6 separate regions of the Homo sapiens genome follow, and all the other regions are linked to region 6. The links are contacts of gene promoters, found by promoter capture Hi-C in human tissues and cell types (Jung and others, 2019). All regions are on one chromosome and are shown on one strand. The core of a region is centred on a gene start or on the middle of the fragment in contact, and the rest is flanking DNA. Distances in the headings are between cores, read along the strand shown.

Region 1 (3,603 bases), core at 614-3,113, 440 kb before region 6:
CCACCCACCTCCGTGTCCCAAAGCACTGAGTAGCTGGGACTACAGCTGGGATTACAGGTGTGAGCCACCGTGCCAGGACAGAATAACCAATGTTTTGTCTTAAATTTGAAAATGCTGTTGGGGTGCATAAATTAGCATAAACTTTTTGGAAGGCAATTTATTCAAAAAGCAAAACTTTAAATACACATATTGCCTAAACCAGCAATTTCACAACTAGAAATGCATTTCAATGAAATAAGGAGAATAACATACAAAGATATGCAAGTATTTTTTGCAGCATTCATTAATTCAACCAATATTTAATGAGAGCCCGCTTTGTTCAGGCTGTGTAACAGAATAAGAGAGTTATTTAGTGAACAAAACAGATCAATACTGTTCTCATAAAGCTGGAAACAATCTACATGTGTATTTACAAAGGATAAAACAAATTATGGCACAGGCTTATCATGCTTAAACTCTTCAGCAGCCTCTTCCTATGACACCGAAAATAAAATCCAAATTCCTAACCATGAATTGGGTCCTGCCCAGCTTTCTGGCCCCGTCTTGCCACTTTCCACCTTGCCTGCTAGGCTTCAGTTACACTGGCCTTTTAAATTTCTGGGAGACACCAGGGTCCTTCGCCCTCAGGACCTTCATACTTCACACTTCCTTATTCCTCTCCCTGAAACATGGCCTGCTCAGCCCTGCTGACCCACTGCCTTGCTTTGCCGCACCCCCACTTTCTAAGCCCTCCAGGCTCCTCACTTTTTGGCCACATGTTGGCCATGCTGGTCTCAAACTCCTGACCTCGTGATCTACCCGCCTCAGCCTCCCAAAGTGCTGGGATTACAGACGTGAGCCACCACGCCCGGCCCTAATTTTTGTATTTTTAGTAGAGACGGGGGTTTTACTATGTTGGCCAGGCTGGTCTCGAACTCCTGACCTCAGGTGATCCACCCACCTCGGCCTCCCAAAGTGCTGGGATTACAGGCGTGAGCCCCTGCACTCGGCCAGAGTATCATTCTTTATACCTCCTAATGGAATAATGGATCTGGGCTTTGAGCATCAGAGGCTGCTGACATCACACAAAGAGCAACCAAACATTATGTATCTTGATGACAGACGTACAAAACATCATTATGATGTAGTTTTCTGTAAAAAAGAATCTGAATCAGCTCAGGCTTCTACATCTAACTACCAATTTATGGGAAATACGAGACAAAGTAAAATGTCCATTAATACTCGTGGGTGCAATCAGGAAAATCCAAAACTTGGGAAAATCTACAGGGCAAACAACACAGTTTCTTTAAGAAAAGATTGCAGAGGGGGCAAAGGGAAATGGAAGAAGAAACCAGAGACTTAATAATCTGAGCAGGCTGGACCCAGTGGCTCACCCGGTAATCCCAACTCTTTGGGGGCTGAGGCAAGAAGATCACTTGAGCCCAGGAGCTCAAGACCAGCCTGAGCAACACAGTGAGACCCTATCTCTACAAAAAATAAAAAAATACTGGCCAGGCATGGTGGCAGGTGCCTGAAGTCCCAGTGTAGTCCCAGCCACTTGGGAGGCTGAGGGTAGGATCGCTTTCGTTCCAGGTTTCAGTGAGCTGTGATCAAACCACCGCACTCCAGCCTGGGCAACAGATTGAGACCCCATATTAAACAAAAAGAATCTGAGCAACAAGGAATTGGAAAATAAAATTTAAAAGCAACACCAATAATACATCATTATTGGTTCATTAATTGTAACAAATATTTCATATCAATGTTAATAATATGGGAAACTGGGTAAGTGGTATATGGGAACCATACAAACGATCTTTGCAATTTTTCTGTAAATGTAAAAGTATCCTTAAAAGTGTAGTTTATGTTTTTTAAAAACTATTTACAATAGCAATTCATAACATCGTTCTGTGGTTTGATTGTGTTCTCCAAAGTTTATGGGTTATAAGCTTAATCCCTGAAGCCACAGTGTTGAGAGGTATGAGGTCATGAGGGCTCTGGCATCATCATGGGTTAATGCCATTATCTCAGGAGTGGGCTCTTTTATTCCTTCAAGAGATCTTTATTAAGCACTTATTACGTACCAGGCATTGTATTTGGTGCTAATGAACAGAGGTGAACAAAGTAGACTTTCTGGCATGTAACTTAAAACTAATGGGGGCGCCAGATAATAAGGAAGTAAGCCAGCCGAGACGTAACTTCGGTTTTGTGGTGTTAGGAAATAAATTTGGCAGTGCTGGAATAAGGGAGCTACCTACTGAAGGGGGGTGGCCAGGAGGGCCTCTCTGCTGAAGGGGGGTGGCCAGGAGGGGCTCTCTGAGGAGGTGATACTGAAGCGGGGACCTGAGGCTTGGGGAATGAGACTGCCAAGTGAGAAGCCACCACACCCGGCTAATTTTTGTATTCTTTTAGTAGAGACGGGGTTTTGCCATGTTGACGAGACTGGTCTTAAACTCCTGACCTCAAGTGATCCACCCTCCTCAGCCTCCCAAAGTGCTGGGATTATAGGCATGAGCCACCGCGCCCCCACTCTTCTGGAAGCTCTGAGGAAAAAACTATTTACACCTCTCTTCTAGCTTTGGGTGTTTGCTGGCAATCCTTGATGTTCCTTGGCTCATAGAAGTCTGACTCCAGCCTCTGCCTCCTTCTCACGGCCTTCTTCCCTGTATCTCTGTGTGTTCAATCTCTCTCTCCTTTCTAAGGACAACAGTCATTAGATAAGGCCCCCCACCAATCCTAAATCCAGGACCATCTCATCTTGAGATACTTAATTACATTTACCAAGATAAAGTCACATTTACATGTCCCAAGGCCTAGGACTTGGACATATTTTGGGGTTGGGGGGACACTTCAACCCACTATATCTCCCTGGGTCCTCTTGAGATGACACTAATAGTCTTTGATATTTTTCTTGCTTTTTGTGTAACATGATGTTCTGATTCATCTTGTAGATTTCCTGCCCTTGACCTGGAATTAGTCATTTCTCCAGGAATCTCTGGTTTCTTTTAGTGGAAAATTGTATTTAGAGATCACAATAAAGGTGCTAAGAATGTATTACTTTTGTAATCAATAAAAACAATTTTCACTAAATAAAAAATAATTGGCCACTTGTATCATCAGTCATCAAAATGGTCTTCAACTTATTTCTAGAACTTCTAAGAGTCTGTTCTAGAAAACTAATGCAAAACATTTAAGATGCTATATTCAGAAAGACATTCTTTGTAAGGATTATCTTTTTTTTTTTTTTTTTTTTTAGAGACAGGGTCTCACTCTGTCACCCAGGCTGGAGTGCAGTGGTGTGATCATAGCTCACTGCAGCTTTGACCTCCCAGGCTCAAGCGATCCTCCAACCTCAGCTTCCCAAGTAGCTGAGACCACAGGCATGTACCACCACACTCAACTAACTTTTAAATTTTTTGTAAAGACCAGGTCTCACTATGTTACCCAGGCTGGTCTTGGACTATTGGCCTCAAGCGATCCTTCCACCTTGGCTTCCCAATATGCTAGGATTACAGGCGTGAGCCACTGTACCCTGCCAGGATTATCTATAAAAGCAAAATTTTGGCTGGGCATGGTGGCTCACGCCTATAATCCCAGCACTTTGGAAGGCCAAGGTGAGTGGAT
Region 2 (3,523 bases), core at 982-3,481, 330 kb before region 6:
TGTCATCCCAGCTACTCGGGAGGCTGAGGCAGGAGAATCACTTAAACCCAGGAGGCGGAGGTTGCAGTGAGCTGAGATAGCACCACTGCACTCCAACCTGGGTAATAAGAGCAAAACTCTGTCCCGACCAAAAAAAAAGATAGCTTACTTGAGATCAAGTAGAGACATTAAGTTGGACATAAGATTCTGGAGCTTGGAAGAGAGGTGATAGGTTGGGATTTAAATTCAGAAGTCATTACTTTAGAGATGATATGTAAGTCTGTAAGATTAGAAGTCACCTAGGAAGACAGAATACACAAGAGAAGAAAAGATGGCACAGGGCTGACCCTTGGGCATGCCAATATTCAGAAGTCTAAAATAAAAAAAAGCAGAGATGCAGAGAAAAACCACCAGTGACATGAGAAAAAATCAGGGACGATGGGTGTTACAGAAGCCAAACAGAAGTGTTTGAAGGAGAAGGAAAGAGTGATTGTGCCTTCTGTTGTTAAACACTCATGTAAGAGGCTGGGCGCAGTGGCTCAGGCCTATAATCCCAGCACTTTGGGAGGCCAGGGCGGGTGGATGACCTGAGGTCAGGAGTTCAAGACCAGCCTGACCAATATGATGAAACCCTGTCTCTACTCAAAATACAAAAATTAGCCGGGCGTGGTGGCAGGCGCCTGTAATCCCAGCTACTCAGGAGGCTGAGACAGGATAATCGCGTGAACCCAGGAGGCAGAGGTTGCAGTGAGCCAAGATCGTGCCACTGCACTCCAGCCTGGGCAACAAGAGCAAAACTCCATCTCAAAACAACAACAACAACAAAAAACTCATGTGGATCATGAGGTCAAGAGTTTGTGACCAGCCTGACCAACATGGTGAAACCCCTGTCTCTACTAAAAATACAAAAATTAGCCAGGCATGGTGGTGTGCACCTGTAATCCCAGCTACTCAGGAGGCTGAGGTAGGAGAATTGCTTGAACCCAGGAAACGGAAGCTGCAGTGAGCCAAGATGGTGCCATTGCACTCCAGCCTAGGCGACAGAGCAAGACTCCATCTCAAAAAAAAAAATGAAGACAGCTGCTACTGATTTTGACAACAGGGAAGTTGTTGGTGACCTTGACAAGAGCAGTCTCAATGCAGTCAAGGGAATGGACAGCGATGACATGAAGTAGAGGCTGTGATCACAGAGCAGGCCACAAATGATGGCCTGTGGGCTGAAGCCAGTCTGCCACGTCTGCCACCTGTTTTTGTAAACAATGTGTTTTTGGACCGAAACTCATTAATAATACTTAAACCAAACTCATTTGTTTAAGTATTGTTTATGGGGACTTTTGCCACACAATGGCAGAGATAAATAGTTACAACAGAGACCATATGGTCAGTAAAGGCTAAAATATTTACTATCCAGCCCTTAACAGAAAGCTTGCTGACCCTGGTATAGACTTTTTTTTTCAAGAAGTTTTTGCTATGAGAAAGGAAGAAAAATAGGGCAAAAGATGGCGTAAAGGGAGTAATTTTTAAAGATGAGAAATGCTTGCATACGTCTGCTTGGGAGTGATTTAGCAGGAGAGAAATTTATTTGGGGGGGCAATGGGTTAATTACAGAAGAGGACTGTTTTAAACATAATGTTCTGGGGGGGGCAATGGGTTAATTACAGAAGAGGACTGTTTTAAACATAATGTTCTGGGGGGGGCAATGGGTTAATTACAGAAGAGGACTGTTTTAAACATAATGTTCTGCGGAGGGGGCAATGGGTTAATTACAGAAGAGGACTGTTTTAAACATAATGTTCTGGGGGGGGGGGCAATGGGTTAATTACAGAAGAGGACTTTTTTAAACATAATGTTCTTGAATTGTTTAGTGCAGGGGACCCCAAGCCCTGGGCCGTGGGCCAGCACCAGTCCGTGGCCTGTTGGGAACTGGGCCGCACAGCAGGAGGTGAGCGGTGGGCAAGTGAGTGAGCATGATCTTCTGAGCTCCCCCTCCTCAGATCAGCAGCGGTATTAGATTCTCATAGGAGCGCGAACCCTACTGTGAACTGCACACGCGAGGGATCTAGGTTGCAAGCTCCTTAACAGAATCTAACTAAGGCCTGATTATCTGAGGTGGAACAGTTTCATCCTGAAACCATGTCCCCCTCCCTGGTCCATGGAAAAACTGTCTTCCAAAAAACTGCTCGCTGGTGCCAAAAAGGTTGGGGACCACTGGTTTAGTGTATGAGTATTAGCCCTTTAGCAGGGTTATAAGTATCCTTTAGAATGGGGACCAAGGATATGAACAGCACTCCTATAGAGCCCATAGCTGAGCCAATCATCCATTTGGTTTACCGGGGACACGCTGCGTTTATGATTCAGTATAGTTATTAACAGCTCCCTCTCCTTCTCAAAGTGACTCTGGTGATAAATCATATGGTCACCTCACCTACAGCACCTAAGCAAGGCTATGGCACAGTGGGACCTTGACAAATATTGCCCACTGATTAAAAGTATCATGGTGCACCTGTAAGAGTGCTGGTGCTGAGGCTACCGCTCTGAATAAGTGCGCTCATAACCATTCCTCTAACTTCAGGCCCAACCATGAGCAGTGGTTCAAAATCACAGCTTCATGCTTTCTGTAAGTATTCTCTATTTGGCTTAAACAGAGTCTAATATCCAAGATGCTACATGGGATCAGTAAATTCTAAAAAAGTTTCAATCGTGGAGTAAAAAGTGCAACAGAGGCCTCTGTAGGCAACTGACCACTAGAAAGGACTGATCTTTTTCGACACAGCTCACATGGAATTCTGTGATACTGCAGGTCATGTCATGTTATGGTGACATGCTAATGGGACCATAGCTACTGTGTTCTAGACAAACACCCTAAAACATATGACATGCAGCTAAGAAAGGCAAAAAAGGGGCTAAGTTATACACTTAGGTCTCACATATGAAGAAGTCTGCATGATCCTATCTCAGAGAAAGGGTTTCTATCCCTTTCTCTCTTACATTAAACCTGGCATCCTACCAGAACTGTCTCTGCTGAAGGTATCGCTTTTTTCTTCCAGCAAACAAATAAGACTCACACAATCTTACATGTCACAGTCTCCAAGATAGATAAACTATGTGCCAGACTTTTTTCGGGCTGGAATACTTTTGCTTGTTTTAATAAGGTACTGAAGTTGGGGAAATGTACTATAATTCATTTTGCAGAGTTTAAAAACTCCTCTGAAGCACTGGTGCTATCAGGCAAGTCCATTCTCAACACACACCCTAATATTTGACATCTAACCTCTGATCATGAGTCATATAGAAAGATTGTTTTGCAACTGGAAGAATCATGGGTCCTACAAGAAGTTAAGGTTTTTTTAAGAAACACAAAAATACCTTCACTACCTGGCTAATCAGAAATGTGCTGAAAGAATCACTCTGGCACTGTCCCTAGACACTTTTTAAAATAAAAACGTGGTTGGCCGGGGGGGCAGTAGCTCACACCTATAATCCCAGCACGCTGCAAGGCTGACGGTGGATTACTTGAGGCCAGGAGTTCAAGACCAGTCTGACC
Region 3 (3,175 bases), core at 676-3,175, 310 kb before region 6:
TAGGTGGGAGGATCACCTGAAGCCAGGAGTTCTAAACCAGCCTGGGCAACACAGTGAGATTCCATCTCTACAAAAAGTGTTTTAAAACAGTCAGGCATAGTGGTGTGCACCTGTAGTCCTAGCTACTTGGGAGGCTGAGGTGGAAGGATCACGTGAGCCCAGGAGTTCAAGGCTAGAGTGAGCTACGATCCTGCCATTACATTCCAGCCTGAATGACAGAGTGAGACCCTGTCTCTAAGAAGAAAAAAAAGAAGAATTTGGAAGTTATAAAAACTAGAAATGAAAAAAAATCTATCTGCAGTCTCAAATTTCAAAAACAATACAAATAATAAATTCTGTTGTCAAGTGGAATGTTTATTTTAACTATAGGGTGATATTGCATGTCACGCCAGGCAAACATCTAATGGAGGTCTTGAAGACAGGACAAGAGAAATGAACCTTTGACCACCACTGTTGCCACAGCAGATATTCTGGACCATAGGTAAGCTGTGCCGCCATTTTTATTCACAGAGAACAGCACGCTGAAGGCAGTAAGGGGCCTGGGATAATTCAGAACAAGTAAACCTGGAGTTGCTTTAAAGCACAGCAGTGGGGCTGGAGAGGAGCTGATGGAGCTGACGGAAAAGCCACAGGAACTCGACAAATACCTGGATGCACGGAACTAGGAAAACTGAAATTCCAGTGGACTGTGTATCAGCAGCACTGGTGTTCCTGCCATTTACTAAACATGAGTGAGCCCAACATTGTGCAAAAAAGGTGTTTTAAAATACATTTATTCTAGGCCAGATGTGGTGGCTCATGCCTGTAATCCCAGCACTTTAGGAGGCTGAGGCAGAAGGATTGCTTGAGGCCAGGAGTTTGAGACTAGCCTGGGCAACATAGCGAGACCTCATCTACACAATACTTAAAAATTACATTAGCTGGGCGCAGTGGCTCACGCCTGTAATCCCAGCACTTTGAGAGGCCAAGGTGGGCAGATCACCTGAGATCAGAAGTTCAAGACCAGCCTGGCCAACATGGTGAAACCCTGTCTCTACCAAAAATATAAAAACTAGCCAGGCGTGGTGGTGGTCGCCTGTAATCTCAGCTACTTGGGAGGCTGAGGCAGGGAGAATCACTTGAACCCAGGAGACGGAGGTTGCAGTGAGCAGAGATCGTAACACGGCACTCCAGCCTGGGTGACACAGCAAGACTCCAGCTCAAAAAAAAAAAGCCAGGTGCGGTGGCTCATACCTGTAATCCCAGCACTTTGGGAGGCTGAGGCACGCAGATCATGAGGTCAGAAGATCGAGACCATCCTGGCCAACATGGGGAAACCCCATCTCCACTAAAATACAGAAAATTAGCCGGGCGTGGTGGCACATGCCTGTAGTCCCAGCTACTCAGGAGGCTGAGGCAGGGGAATTGCTTGAACCCAGGAGGCAGAAGCTGCAGTGAGCCAAGATCGCACCAATGCACTCCAGCCTGGAGAGAGAGCAAGACTCAGTCTCAAAAAAAAAAAAAAAAAGATGCGCATGGTGGCATGTGCCTGTGGTCCCAGCTACTCGGGACGCTGAAGTGAGAGGATCACTTGAGCCCACGAGGTTGAGGGCGCAGCGAGCTGTGATTGCACCACTCCACTCTAGCCTGGGCAACAAAGTAAGACCCTGTCTCAAAAACAAATAAATAAATAAGTGGATAAATAAAATAAAGTATATTAATTCTAATCCCCCCTAACCCTGAGGTACGTATTATTATCTCCATGTCACAGATGGAAAGTTAAATATCTTGTCCAAGGTCACACAGATAACAGCAGAGACAAAATTTAAATTCAAAGCTCAAGTTTTTTTCACTTTACCAAGATGCCATCCAATGTTACATCACTGAAGATATCTAACTACACCAATCCTTAGAGAATTGAAATAAAATGCCCAGTCCTTCACTGTACATAGAGGAGAGAAGATAGCTATTTGGATTCCTTATAGCTTTTCTAAAAATGAGGGATTTTAGAGGATACGTGGCAAAGTGTTCCAAATATGCCGCAGACATGTCTCCCTGCCAAAAAAGCGCTATCAAGGTGATATGATTTGGCTGTGTCCCCACCCAAATCCCTACATGTCATAGGAGGGACCTGGTGGGAAGTCACTGAACCACGGGGTGGTTTCTCCCATTCTATTCACGTGATAGTAAGTTCTCACAAGATCTGATGGTTTTGTAAGAGGCTTCCCCCTTCGCTCAGCTCTCATTCTTCCTCTCTCCTGCCACCTTGTGAAGAAGGATGGGTTTGCTTCCCTTTCCACCATGATTGTAAGTTTCCTGAGGCATCCCCAGCCCTGCAGAAATGTGAGTCAATTAAACCTCTTTCCTTTATAAATTACCCCGTCTAAGGTATTTCTTCATAGCAGTGTGAGAACGGACTAATACACAAGGCTTGTGTGCAATAAACAGGATGAAGAATGGTAGTGAGGCCAAACCCAGTTGCACTACATTGTTAAACAGTTAACGGACATTTTATGAGTCCCCGCCTCAACTACAACCAGTAGCACTCTAGAAGCAGGCAAAATGAACAGTCGCCCGCCCCGCCTCAACTACAACCAGTAGCACTCTAGAAGCAGGCAAAATGAACAGTCACCGGATTCAACTTGACAAAGGCAAGCCAACCTTGACCTCTGCACTAGACGTAAGAAATCCTGGTTGGGAAATGACTGTGAGCCCGAATCAAAACTCTGCCCCTACAAAAGGCTGATCTAACAACCCGACTCCAGGGCTGCCCCACAGATCACGGTGTTCAGGGCACTCCCAGGTCATGTCCAAACCTCAGCAATTCCTGAAGTTTAGTGTTATTTGCAGACATGCTGAAAAGTACAACGCAAAAAATAATAACAGAAAAGAAACAAAAAATGTCCAGCCAATCTTGGCCACTAATGGGAAACTTCGAGGCCATACTCTAAAAGCTCAGTCGCTTTAGCTGTGGTATGTTTTAGTAGGAAGAAGCAAGTAGCAATTGCCATTTTTTTCCAAACTATTTGTGGTCCCTTTAATACTAATACCAATTACTTTCTTCAATTTTTATCAATCAATGGGCTTCATTTTCCTCCCAAGAGAGGATGAGAGAAAGGATCAATTTAAAGTGAGGGAGGATAAGAATATAAAGTCTCCTTCTAGTGAGCTGACAATGACAAATTCAAAATCCCAC
Region 4 (3,391 bases), core at 538-3,037, 260 kb before region 6:
CTCAGCCTCCCAAGTAGCTGGGACTACAGGTGTGCGCCACCACATCTGACTAATTTTTGTATTTTTAGTAGAGACGGGGTTTCGCCATGTTGGCCAGGCTGATCTTGAACTCCTGACCTCAAGTGATCCACCCGCCTCAGCCTCCCAAAGTGCTGAGATTACAGGTGTGAGCCACCGAACCCGGCCAGCTCTAGAATTGTAAAGAAAATGGCCAGGGTTGCCTCCCAGAAACTCCATAGAGTGGGGTTGCATGCAGACAAGAGAAAACTCACAGGTTCCAGGATTTAAGTTAGTAAAACCCCCAACTGTTGAGCAGCTAAGGAGTTAAACTAGAAATGTTGGATTTGTGATTTGGGACACTTTCCAAACCAGCTTCTTGGTGGGGCCGTTGAATCATTTGTATATCTATCTATATCAAAATCAGTTTTATCACAAAATGCCAGAACATCTACTACAAATTAGTAGCTAAGTCAGGCAAGTAGTGACAGCAAGCTGCTTCAACAGGCAGGGCTGAGTGAATGCCTGCTTTTTGCCTTTGACACTCACGAATTGGCCCTGAAACTGAGAGCAAGTGGTCTACTCTCCCTGTTTATCAGTTTCAACATCTTTATTGTAAAGTATTTGGAATAATAATAGCTGATCAAGCACCAAGCTTGGCTGTGAGCCTTCATAATGGATATCCACAATGATTTCACGGGCCATTCATATGCTTTCTTTCAGGCACTGGCTTGCCCGGGAATATGTGTGGTTTCTGATTCCATACATGATCTATGACTCGTACGCCATGTACCTCTGTGAATGGTGCCGAACCAGAGACCAGAACCGTGCGCCCTCCCTCACTCTTCGAAACTTCCTAAGTCGAAACCGCCTCATGATCACACATCATGCGGTCATTCTCTTTGTCCTTGTGCCAGTCGCACAGGTATGGCCTTCCAGGACAGCAGACCAGCAGCTGGGTTGAGCTGGGTGTCTTTTTTTTTTTTTTTTTCTGAGACAGTCTCACTCTGCCGCCCCAGCTGGAGTGCAGTGGTGTGATCTCAGCTCACTGCAACCTCCGCCTCCCGGGTTCAAGCGATTCTCCTGCCTCAGCCTCCTGAGTAGCTGGGATTGCAGGTGCCCACCACCACGCCCGGCTAATGTTTGTATTTTTAGTAGAGATGGGGTTTTGCCATGTTGGCCAGGCTGATTTCAAACTCCTGAACTCAAGTGATCCGCCCGCCTCGGCCTCCCAAAGTTCTGGGATTACAGGCATGAGCCACTGCGCCCGGCCTGAGCTGGATGTCTTGACCGTTACTTAGGAGTCGGGATTGCCCCTCTTTTCTTTGCCACTCATAGGCACCCATTCTCCTTGTGCCTGCTGCTTCAGAGCCACCTCCCCCAGGTGAATAGTGGAGGAACACCATTACACATGAAACGTTCATGATCCTCCTTACCAACATCAACATCAACATACTTTTTCTTTTTTGAGACAGGGTTTCACTCTGTCACCCCGGGTGGAGTGCAGTTGTTGGATCACAGCTCACTGTAGCCTCAAACTACTGGCCTCAAGTGATCCTCCTGCCTCTGCTTCCCAGGAAGCTGGGAACACAGGCACACACTACAACGTCCAGCTAATTCCTGTAATTTTTGTAGAGTTTCTCCATGTTGCCCAGGCTGGTCTCAAACTCTTGGACTCAAGTGATCCTCCTGCCTAGGCCTCCCAAAGTGCTGGGATTACAGGCGCGAGCCACTGCACCCGGCCCCAACATTCTTTTTAACAAACCCCCAGCGCTCTGTGATTCCCTAGCGTTTGTCAGAGGTTCTATCCTTAGTTCAATACAAGATAAAAACAATATAAAATACAAATATAATACAAAGCAACATAACAGTGCCAGAGAGCACTGTGTGGATTATTCTTAGGTCACAAAACACAGATTCTCAAAGCAAATAGCCTCCTACTTTCTCCCCAGATCCATTTCCCCATAAAAGCCCACCCAACAAAGAAAAGCAATGGGAAAGCTGAGGGGAAATTCCTCACTCTTGAGTGCCTGGCCAGGGGAAGGCATGCGTTTTTTTTTTTAATTATTCATTTATTTAGTTATTCATTTTTTTGAGATGGCGTTTTGCTCTTGTTGCCCAGGCTGGAGTGCAATGGCTCACTGCAACCTCTGCCTCCCGGGTTCAAGTGATTCTCCTGCCTCAGCCTTCCAAGCAGCTGGGTTTACAGATGCACGCCACCATGCCTGGCTAATTTTTATATTTTTATTAGAGACGGGGTTTCACCATATTGGTCAGGCTGATTTCAAACTCCTGACCTCAGGTGATCCACCTGCCTCAGCCTCCCAAAGTGCTGGGATTACAGGCGTGAGCCACTGCTCTTGGCCGGCATGTAGTTTTATTTTATTTTTTAAATAAAGAGATGGGGGTCTCCTTATGAGGCCCAGGCTGATCTTGAACTCCTGGGCTCAAGGGATCCTCCCGTCTCAGCCTCCCAAAGTGCTGGGATTATAGGCGTGAGCCACCGCGCCCTGCCAGGCATGTGATTTAAAAGTTCATAGCTTGCTAAATATTAGAAGCTATTAGTCTTATGCTGTAGATGAAGAAACTGGGGCTCTAAGAGTATTCTTATATCTCTCAGTGGTACTAAGTGGCAGAGCTGATATTTTACCATGCTTACTGCTTTCTTGAAAAAAGAGGCCGGGCGAGGTGGCTCATGCCTGTAATCCCAGTCAGAAGTTCGAGACCAGCCTGGCCAACATGGTGAAACCCCATCTCTACTAAAAATACAAAAATTAGCCGGGTGTGATGCTGTACATCTGTAGTTCCAGGTACTCAGGAGCCTGAGGCAGGAGAGTCATTTGAACCCGGGAGGCAGAGGTTGCAGTGAGCTGAGATCACGCCATTGCTCTCCAGCCTGGGCAACAAGAACAAAACTCCGTCTCAAAAAATAAAAATAAAATAAATAAATAAGGGTAACGTGCATTAAATTCTTTAAGAAGTGTCTGGGACCTACCATCTAGGAACCAGAACATCTAGGGTGCTTTGAGACCCTAACATCTAGCACAGGGCCTGGCACATTTTGTTGAACCAAACAGGCTGAGTGTCTTGGCATGACTAAGTTCGATACACAAAAGTAGGCTTGCAGCCTTCCTTCCGGCTGTCATCAAAATTCAGAGCTTGGTGTGGGACGCCGTCATCCTGTCTGAATTTGCCTCTGGATCCTAGGGCTTGGACCATCAAAGTGCTGTTGCCACGGAAGCAGCGGTACAGTAGTCTGCGCTTGCCTATTGAGCGTCCTTTGCCCGTCACAGTTACCCTTTTCAGTAGCCCTCGTTGGAATTTTCCTTCTGGTGGTTTCTTAACCTCCACTTACTTCCCCTTTTCGTTTCGTCATCCGCAGAGGCTCCGGGGA
Region 5 (3,347 bases), core at 665-3,164, 390 kb before region 6:
TTACAAGAAACTGTTTGTTTTCTTCCATGCCAGTCAATACTATGACGGCTTTAAATCAACTGCATCTAATCCTATAAATACATCTCCGGGATGGAGCCTCCTCAAGATGTCCCATCAGTTTTGTTCATTTACTTCTATTCCTGAGATTCAGTTCTATGTCCTCTACTCTTCAATGAGACATGAGTCCATCAACAAAATAGCACTGGGAAAGGAATTCTAGTTTCTGACATTGAGACCTGGCTTCCAGTTTAAGCTCCTCCACTTCCAAGCTGTGCAACCCTGGGCCAACCACTTAACCTCTCTGAGCTGCAGTTTCATCACCTATAAAGCAAGAGGCAGGAATTGTGACGATAACATAAAGCATGTAAAAGAATTTAAAAGTGCAAAGGACTATAAAAGTGTGAGTATCCATTCTATTACAATCATTTAATCAAGGGACCAGACACATTTGATTGCATCATTTCAGAACTGCTCCTGGAAGCTCTGCTCTCTTGGCTCCTGCCCTTGTGGTGCTGGGAAAGAATGAATGCAGGGCTAGCTGCAAAGTACATGGTTACAGGTTTCTCAGAGCTGGTCCTCCCAGCCAGCCTCCCTTTTGGTGGTGTCTGGAGCAAAACAATACCGTAAAATAATCCTCCAGCAGCCAAGTGTAGACAATTAAAAACAGGGATCACTAATCTAGAAGGGAAACGTTCTGATTTATTGCTCTAACCTCCCTTGTCATAACATGGCAGTTAACCAAAAACACCATTCTGTAGGATGAAGGGAGAGGAAATTTAGACTTGGACAGAAAAATCCAAAGGAAATTAAAGTGTTAGTGTGCTCTGAAAAGTAACTCTTCAAATATGCCACTGGCCACCTTGACATTTCCAGGCCTCCCCAATGGCTTCCAGACCTAAAGTGATCAGCTTACACTGCATGGAGGCCTCTCCTAGCCGAGGGTGCTGCTGGCTTCCCGGGGATTGTTCAGCCTCTCTCATCATCACTGTACCAGATGACAGTCAAACCAAAAACTCAGCTGACAAGCTCAGGAGATGCTGAATGAGGCAGAGCAGAACTCTCCTGGCCCCACCACAGTGGCTAATGAAGCTTGTGTGTGTCCTGGAGGCGGGGCTCTTCAGGAGCAGAGATGTGGGCAGGGAAGTCTGCCCTTTCATGGAGTTTTCTACATGCACTTTCAGATAAAGGCCTTCTGTAAAGACCACAACAGCTGTCATCTCTGAACGTGGCCAAGAGCCAAAGGATCGTATCTGGAGCAAGCAGACCGATTTTCAGAAACGCACATTGGGTAGGTTACCCGTGGTGACGCAAACCAGACTTACTTGATCTAAATCTCCTTTCTCCGTTGCCAGTTCCTCCATCTCTGGTGTTGGCTCATCTTCCAGGAAGGGATTGGTAGATGGGGGTGGAGACTCAAGCTTTTTCTGTTAGGTAGATATGAGAAAGAGAAGTGTTTTCTGAGCATATTCAATAGCTTTCCCCATTGATCTGCTTTTTCTAGGTGTCTCCAACAAGGAAGTCATGCACGCTATCTGATAAAGAAGAACTGAGGCAACCCAGACCACATTCTTGCCTCCGGGCCTTCACAGTGCTTTCCCTCTTCCTGCAACCTCCCCGACCACCCCGCCCCAACTCGAATCTGGCTAAAACGCTCACGCATCCTCAGTCCTCAAACCGGAACTCCGTTCTGCTGGGAAGCCTTTCCCATCTGTCAGGTTTGGGTCAGATGTCCCTGACACGTGTTCCCAAACCAAGCTACATGTCTCCTACCCAGGCATTTATTAAAATATAGCAATTGCCCATTATTTGTCTTTTCCCTTCTGGCCTCCATGATGGCAGAGATTGTGTCTGTCTTGTTCCCCATCCTATCTCAGTGCCTAGCATGTAGCAGGTCCTCAGTAAATAGAAATGAATCAAAGTGCCAGATGGATTTCAACGCAAGAACAAACTACAAAACTAATCTCATGTGTTCTAGATTAACAGATGTCTCTTCCCAAGTAAGCCCCATTACAACAACCACAACAGAAATCTCCTTGAGAAAATCGACTTCTCAGCTTCCAAATATGACCACTATTTCAAAATACATCACGGAGTGGAAACATGGGCCAGTGGGAAGGCTGCAGGCAGGAGGCATGGTAGCTGTAGCTCCAACCGTGCGGCACTGGCCCTATCACCCAGCTTCTCTGAGCCTCAGTAACTTCATCTGCTGAATGAGGATGTAGTCACAGGACTATCTGGAGGATCAAATGTGAAACCCTAGAAGCAGCACATGATACACACAAGGGTCACTGATGACGTTAATTCCAGTACAACTACAGAATCAAGGCAGCTCTCTGGAATTCCTTTACAGTTTTCACCTAGAGATGTTGTTTATGCCTGGGAGCTGAAGGCTTTAGCAGAAAGGAGGCCAACTGGACAAACAGAAAAGAGGGACTGCTTGGTGCTGGGGACGAGGGAAGGGGGCAAGGCATGGCTCTCTGGAGACGAGAAGTTAATGGAGAGGGAGTTTCTAAATGTACTTGGTATTTTAGCCAATACCAGTGGGTCAATCTGAATTAATCTCTAAGCCAAAAGGGACAGCAGATGGACTATAGCGTGAATAACTTTGCCAAGTGCCAGGACACCATCTGAAGCTATTACAAACAAAAATAAAACCAAAACTTACACAAAGGCCGGGTGCAGTGGCTCACACCTGGAATCCCAGCACTTTGGGAGGCTGAGGCGGCGGATCACTTGAGGTCAGGAGTTCAAGACCAGCCTGAACAACATGGTGAAAGCCTGTCTCTACTAAAAATACCAAAATTAGCAGCGTGGTGGTAGGCGCCTGTAATCCCAGCTACTTGGGAGGCTGAGGCACAAGAATTGCTTGAATCCAGGAAGTGGAGGTTGCAGTGAGCCAAGATGGCACCACTGCACTCCAGCCTGGGTGACAAAGCGAGACTCCGTCTCAAAAATAAAATACAATAAAATAAATACATTGCACAAAAGCACTACACCTGCGTCTGGTTTTTGGTTTAAGACAATACTGCTAACAGTCATTTAATAACTGCTTATTTTTTGGCCAAAACACTTGGATGCAAGTGATGTGGACAGATACAGCCTCGGTGCATGACAAAGCCTTGTGGTGATGGCATTAGCTCGAGGTAATCAGTAGTAAGATGATGGTTTTTGTGGTATCCTGGTGATAAACAATATGGTCTAACACCCAAGCAAGTATTTCACATTTGCACACTCCAAACTTTGGCTTCTTTACCTAACATGAGAGAAAAAAAATCCTTAAAAATGTACAGCTCTTGTTAGAAAGCAGTATTTCTAAGCTTGAGTTGTCTTCTTAAGGGCTGCTGATA
Region 6 (3,239 bases), core at 90-2,589:
TGTCTCAAAAGAGTAATTTTAAAAAGTAAGGCAACAAATTATCAGGAGTTTTTGAGCTGGTTGTTAAGCACAGTTATTATTAAAAATTACATTCTATACATTTATAATAAATTACACTAAAAATAGGTAATATGTGCTCAAAACTCATCCCCTCCTAAAAATTTTACTACACTGTACTCCTATCTATGCTGTTGAGGTTATTTCCATAGATTGTATCTGTGTGATAGAAACACCATGTAACCACATGCTGCTGTACGTCTTCCCAATTCTGACTGATGACCTCGCTTGGTAGTTTGAAATCAGCCATGATGGGGATATTAACACCACACAAGTCAGCAAATGCTGTCAGTTAGGATTTTTTTTTTTTTTTTTTTTTTTTTGAGACGGAGTCTTGCTCTTGTCGCCCAGGCTGGAGTGCGATGGTGCGATCTTGGCTCACTGCAACCTCCACCTCCCGGGTTTAAGAGATTCTCCTGTCTCAGCCTCCCGAGTAACTGAGATTACAGGCGCCTGCCGCCACCTGGCTAATTTTTATATTTTTAGTAGAGACGGGGTTTCCTGCTTCAGCCTCCTAAGTAGCTGAGAATACAGGCGTGCACCACCATGCCCAGCTAATTTTTTTATTTTTTATTTTTTTAATTTTTAGTAGAGATGGGGTTTCACCATGTTTGTCAGACTGGTCTCGAACTCCTGACCTCGTGATCCACCGGCCTCGGCCTCCCACAGTGCTGGATGACAGGCGTGAGCCCCCGCGCCCGGTCCGTGCATTTACAGCACAAGTTCACGCTTATCTACAAAGCATCCACCTCTCACCGCACCTTCCGGGACCACGGGATTTAACGCCTCACCGCCCGATGACAGCACGAGGTGGAAAGGGCAGCGACAATGCTCGCGCGTCCCCTCCCGGCGATCCGGAGCACGGCAGCCCCGGAGCGCGCGGCCACTCCTCGCTCCCCTCAGGAGCTCGTAAGAGCCCCGCGCGGGGCCGAGGCGCGAGAGCACGCGCAACGCTTCCTGGGAAATGTAGTTGGGTGTCGGATTAGAACTACAAATCCCGGTACTCACCGCGCTGCAGCCCCGACCGTGAGGGCGCTTTCTGGTGAATCTGAATCTCGTTTGTCTGTGACATGGGGAAAGCTGTCCAAGCCCAATTCCATTTTCACAAGAGGCTTTCTTTTTGGAAACATGATAGCGGTCTCGCTGGTGTGCGCACCAGGAGCGTTGCGGCCGCGGCTTCCTCCTGCGGCGAATCTGCCGTTGCATCACAGTGGCTAGTCTCAGGGCCCGCAACGTGACGCTTGTCGAATCTGCTGCGGGGAGAAGGACGCGAGGGTTGCTTGGGCAGCGACTGTCATGGCGGCGGCCGCCCCCAATGCCGGAGGCTCGGCCCCTGAGACAGCGGGTTCCGCCGAAGCTCCGCTGCAGTACAGCCTGCTCCTGCAGTACCTGGTGGGTGACAAGCGTCAGCCCCGGCTCCTGGAGCCTGGGAGCCTGGGCGGGATCCCAAGTCCAGCCAAGAGTGAGGAGCAGAAGATGATCGAGAAGGCGATGGAAAGCTGCGCTTTCAAGGCTGCGCTGGCCTGCGTGGGAGGTGAGGCCGGGCGATGGGACCCTTGGGAGGCTGAGGGCCTGGACGGCAGTGGGGATCTCTGCCGAGAAGACCACGCGCCTGGGAGGCGAGGGACTGCGGGCCTTGACCTTGACCACACCCTCGCCTCGTTCGTGAATCGGGCGTCACCTCTCCTGCCCCCTCAGGCCGGCTTTCCTGATGAAAATTGGGTTAGAGAATCGGTGCTGTGGTTGGGGCCTGAAAGTTATTACATGACATCCTGGCTAACACGGTGAAACCCCGTCTCTACTAAAAATACAAAAAATTAGCTGGACGTGGTGGTGGGCGCCTGTAGTCCCAGCTATTCGGGAGGTTGAGGCAGGAGAATCGCTTGAACCCAGGAGGCGGAGCTTGCAGTGAGCCGAGATGTGCCACTGCTCTCCAGCCTGGGCGACAGAGCGAGACTCCGTCTCAAAAACAACAACAAAAAGTTATTACGTGGGTGACTTCATTCATCCGTTCATTCCCTTAAATTCATTCTCTTAAATAATTCTTTCAACAAATTGTTCCTAAGCAATATCACGTGCCAGGTGAAAGAGACAAGAGCCTGGTCTTCATGGGGCCTGTATTATACTATGTGGAGAAGAATGTTGAGCAGGAACACTGCAGAGGAAGGATGCAGACATATGGAAATGCACATGCAGACGACTCTAGGGCAGCAGTTGTTTGAGGTTTGAAAAACTGAAAGACCATTGTGACTAGACAGCCCCGAGCAAGGAGAGACGAAGTCTGCACTTGTCCTTCTGTTTTTCCCTTAAGTTGAAGGGGAGGTGCCCATGATTTTATTAAACTCATATTGACCATGAGGTCATGAGAGGGCATCCATCTGGACATGTCCAGCCGGCTCAGGAAGGACAGATGTGGCAGCAGTGTGGGATTTGCCATTAGGTAGCTGTGTGGCCTTGGGAGAAGTTGCTTAACCTCTCTGAGCCTCAGTTTATAGAAAGGAGAGGCTAATAGCATCTGTCTCACTGGATTATTGTGAAGAATGAATGAGGCTGTGGCATACTGGCATGTGCTCAGTAAAGCATTACTGTGAATGTCACAGTGGCCAAGAGAGTGATTTGCAAAGTTGATAGCTGAAGTTGAGGGTGGCTGGTTTACATATGAGAGAATGTAGAGAGAATAGAGGGTTAAAGATGGAATCTTGAGAAATGTTAGGGAATGACAGGAGGAAGAAATCTTAGAGACGGAGAAGATGATGTCAGTAACATAGACCCTGGATTGCAAGTCTCCAGGCAAGTGGAGAGTTTGAGTGGCAAGAGGGGGGTGTCCTCTGCACCGGTGGTCATCCAAAAGCATGGTCCCTTCCAGGATGATCCCAATAGAGTAATGCAGAAAACATGCCAAAGACACCTTCATCTCTGTGTTTGCTTCTAGGATTTGTCTTAGGAGGTGCATTTGGGGTGTTTACCGCTGGCATCGATACCAACGTGGGCTTTGACCCTAAGGATCCTTACCGTACACCGACTGCAAAAGAAGTGCTGAAAGACATGGGGCAGAGAGGAATGTCCTATGCCAAAAATTTCGCCATTGTGGGAGCCATGTTTTCTTGTACTGAGTGTTTGATAGAATCTGTAAGTGTCTCTGCCTTCTAAGAAATCCTTGCTGGGGCCACCATTTCATTACT

What was found. The method cuts DNA at HindIII sites, captures the fragments that hold promoters and counts their contacts. A contact is called where the count stands out against the background at its distance.
Region 1: a fragment that was not itself captured here is called in contact with the fragment with the promoter of TIMM22 in region 6 in 2 of the 25 tissues and cell types used here (dorsolateral prefrontal cortex and lymphoblastoid cells).
Region 2: a contact is called between a fragment that was not itself captured here and the fragment with the promoter of TIMM22 in region 6, in 1 of the 25 tissues and cell types used here (lymphoblastoid cells).
Region 3: a fragment that was not itself captured here is called in contact with the fragment with the promoter of TIMM22 in region 6 in 3 of the 25 tissues and cell types used here (dorsolateral prefrontal cortex, lymphoblastoid cells and mesenchymal stem cells).
Region 4: a fragment that was not itself captured here is called in contact with the fragment with the promoter of TIMM22 in region 6 in 5 of the 25 tissues and cell types used here (IMR-90 fibroblasts, aorta, dorsolateral prefrontal cortex and 2 more).
Region 5: a fragment that was not itself captured here is called in contact with the fragment with the promoter of TIMM22 in region 6 in 3 of the 25 tissues and cell types used here (H1 embryonic stem cells, bladder and thymus).

Annotation. Positions count from the first base shown.
Region 1 is chr17:554,644-558,246 of GRCh38, forward strand. The region is part of intron 15 of VPS53 (VPS53 subunit of GARP complex); the gene reads right to left. It overlaps LOC124903891 (a long non-coding RNA gene), which reads left to right and starts at 1,241. Exons shown (of 2, transcript XR_007065571.1): 1 at 1,241-1,376; 2 at 1,573-1,697. The HindIII fragment of the contact is 3,663 bases long and covers 33-3,603 here.
Region 2 is chr17:665,880-669,402 of GRCh38, forward strand. The region is part of intron 4 of VPS53 (VPS53 subunit of GARP complex); the gene reads right to left. Among named protein-coding and RNA genes, the nearest start is that of VPS53, 47 kb to the right of the region's middle. The HindIII fragment of the contact is 7,961 bases long and covers 1-3,523 here.
Region 3 is chr17:686,085-689,259 of GRCh38, forward strand. All of the region lies in intron 4 of VPS53 (VPS53 subunit of GARP complex), which reads right to left. Among named protein-coding and RNA genes, the nearest start is that of VPS53, 27 kb to the right of the region's middle. The HindIII fragment of the contact is 7,720 bases long and covers 1-3,175 here.
Region 4 is chr17:737,126-740,516 of GRCh38, forward strand. TLCD3A (TLC domain containing 3A) reads left to right here. Exons shown (of 5, transcript NM_024792.3): 3 at 721-922; 4 at 3,380-3,391. Among named protein-coding and RNA genes, the nearest start is that of TLCD3A, 6.2 kb to the left of the region's middle. The HindIII fragment of the contact is 5,610 bases long and covers 1-3,391 here.
Region 5 is chr17:600,473-603,819 of GRCh38, forward strand. It overlaps VPS53 (VPS53 subunit of GARP complex), which reads right to left. Exons shown (of 22, transcript NM_001128159.3): 12 at 1,323-1,424. Among named protein-coding and RNA genes, the nearest start is that of VPS53-AS1, 79 kb to the left of the region's middle. RefSeq lists an enhancer at 616-1,815. The HindIII fragment of the contact is 3,119 bases long and covers 356-3,347 here.
Region 6 is chr17:995,790-999,028 of GRCh38, forward strand. It overlaps TIMM22 (translocase of inner mitochondrial membrane 22), which reads left to right and starts at 1,340. Exons shown (of 4, transcript NM_013337.4): 1 at 1,340-1,591; 2 at 2,990-3,186. The coding sequence starts at 1,354. RefSeq lists an enhancer at 1,362-2,053. The HindIII fragment of the contact is 16,003 bases long and covers 1-3,239 here.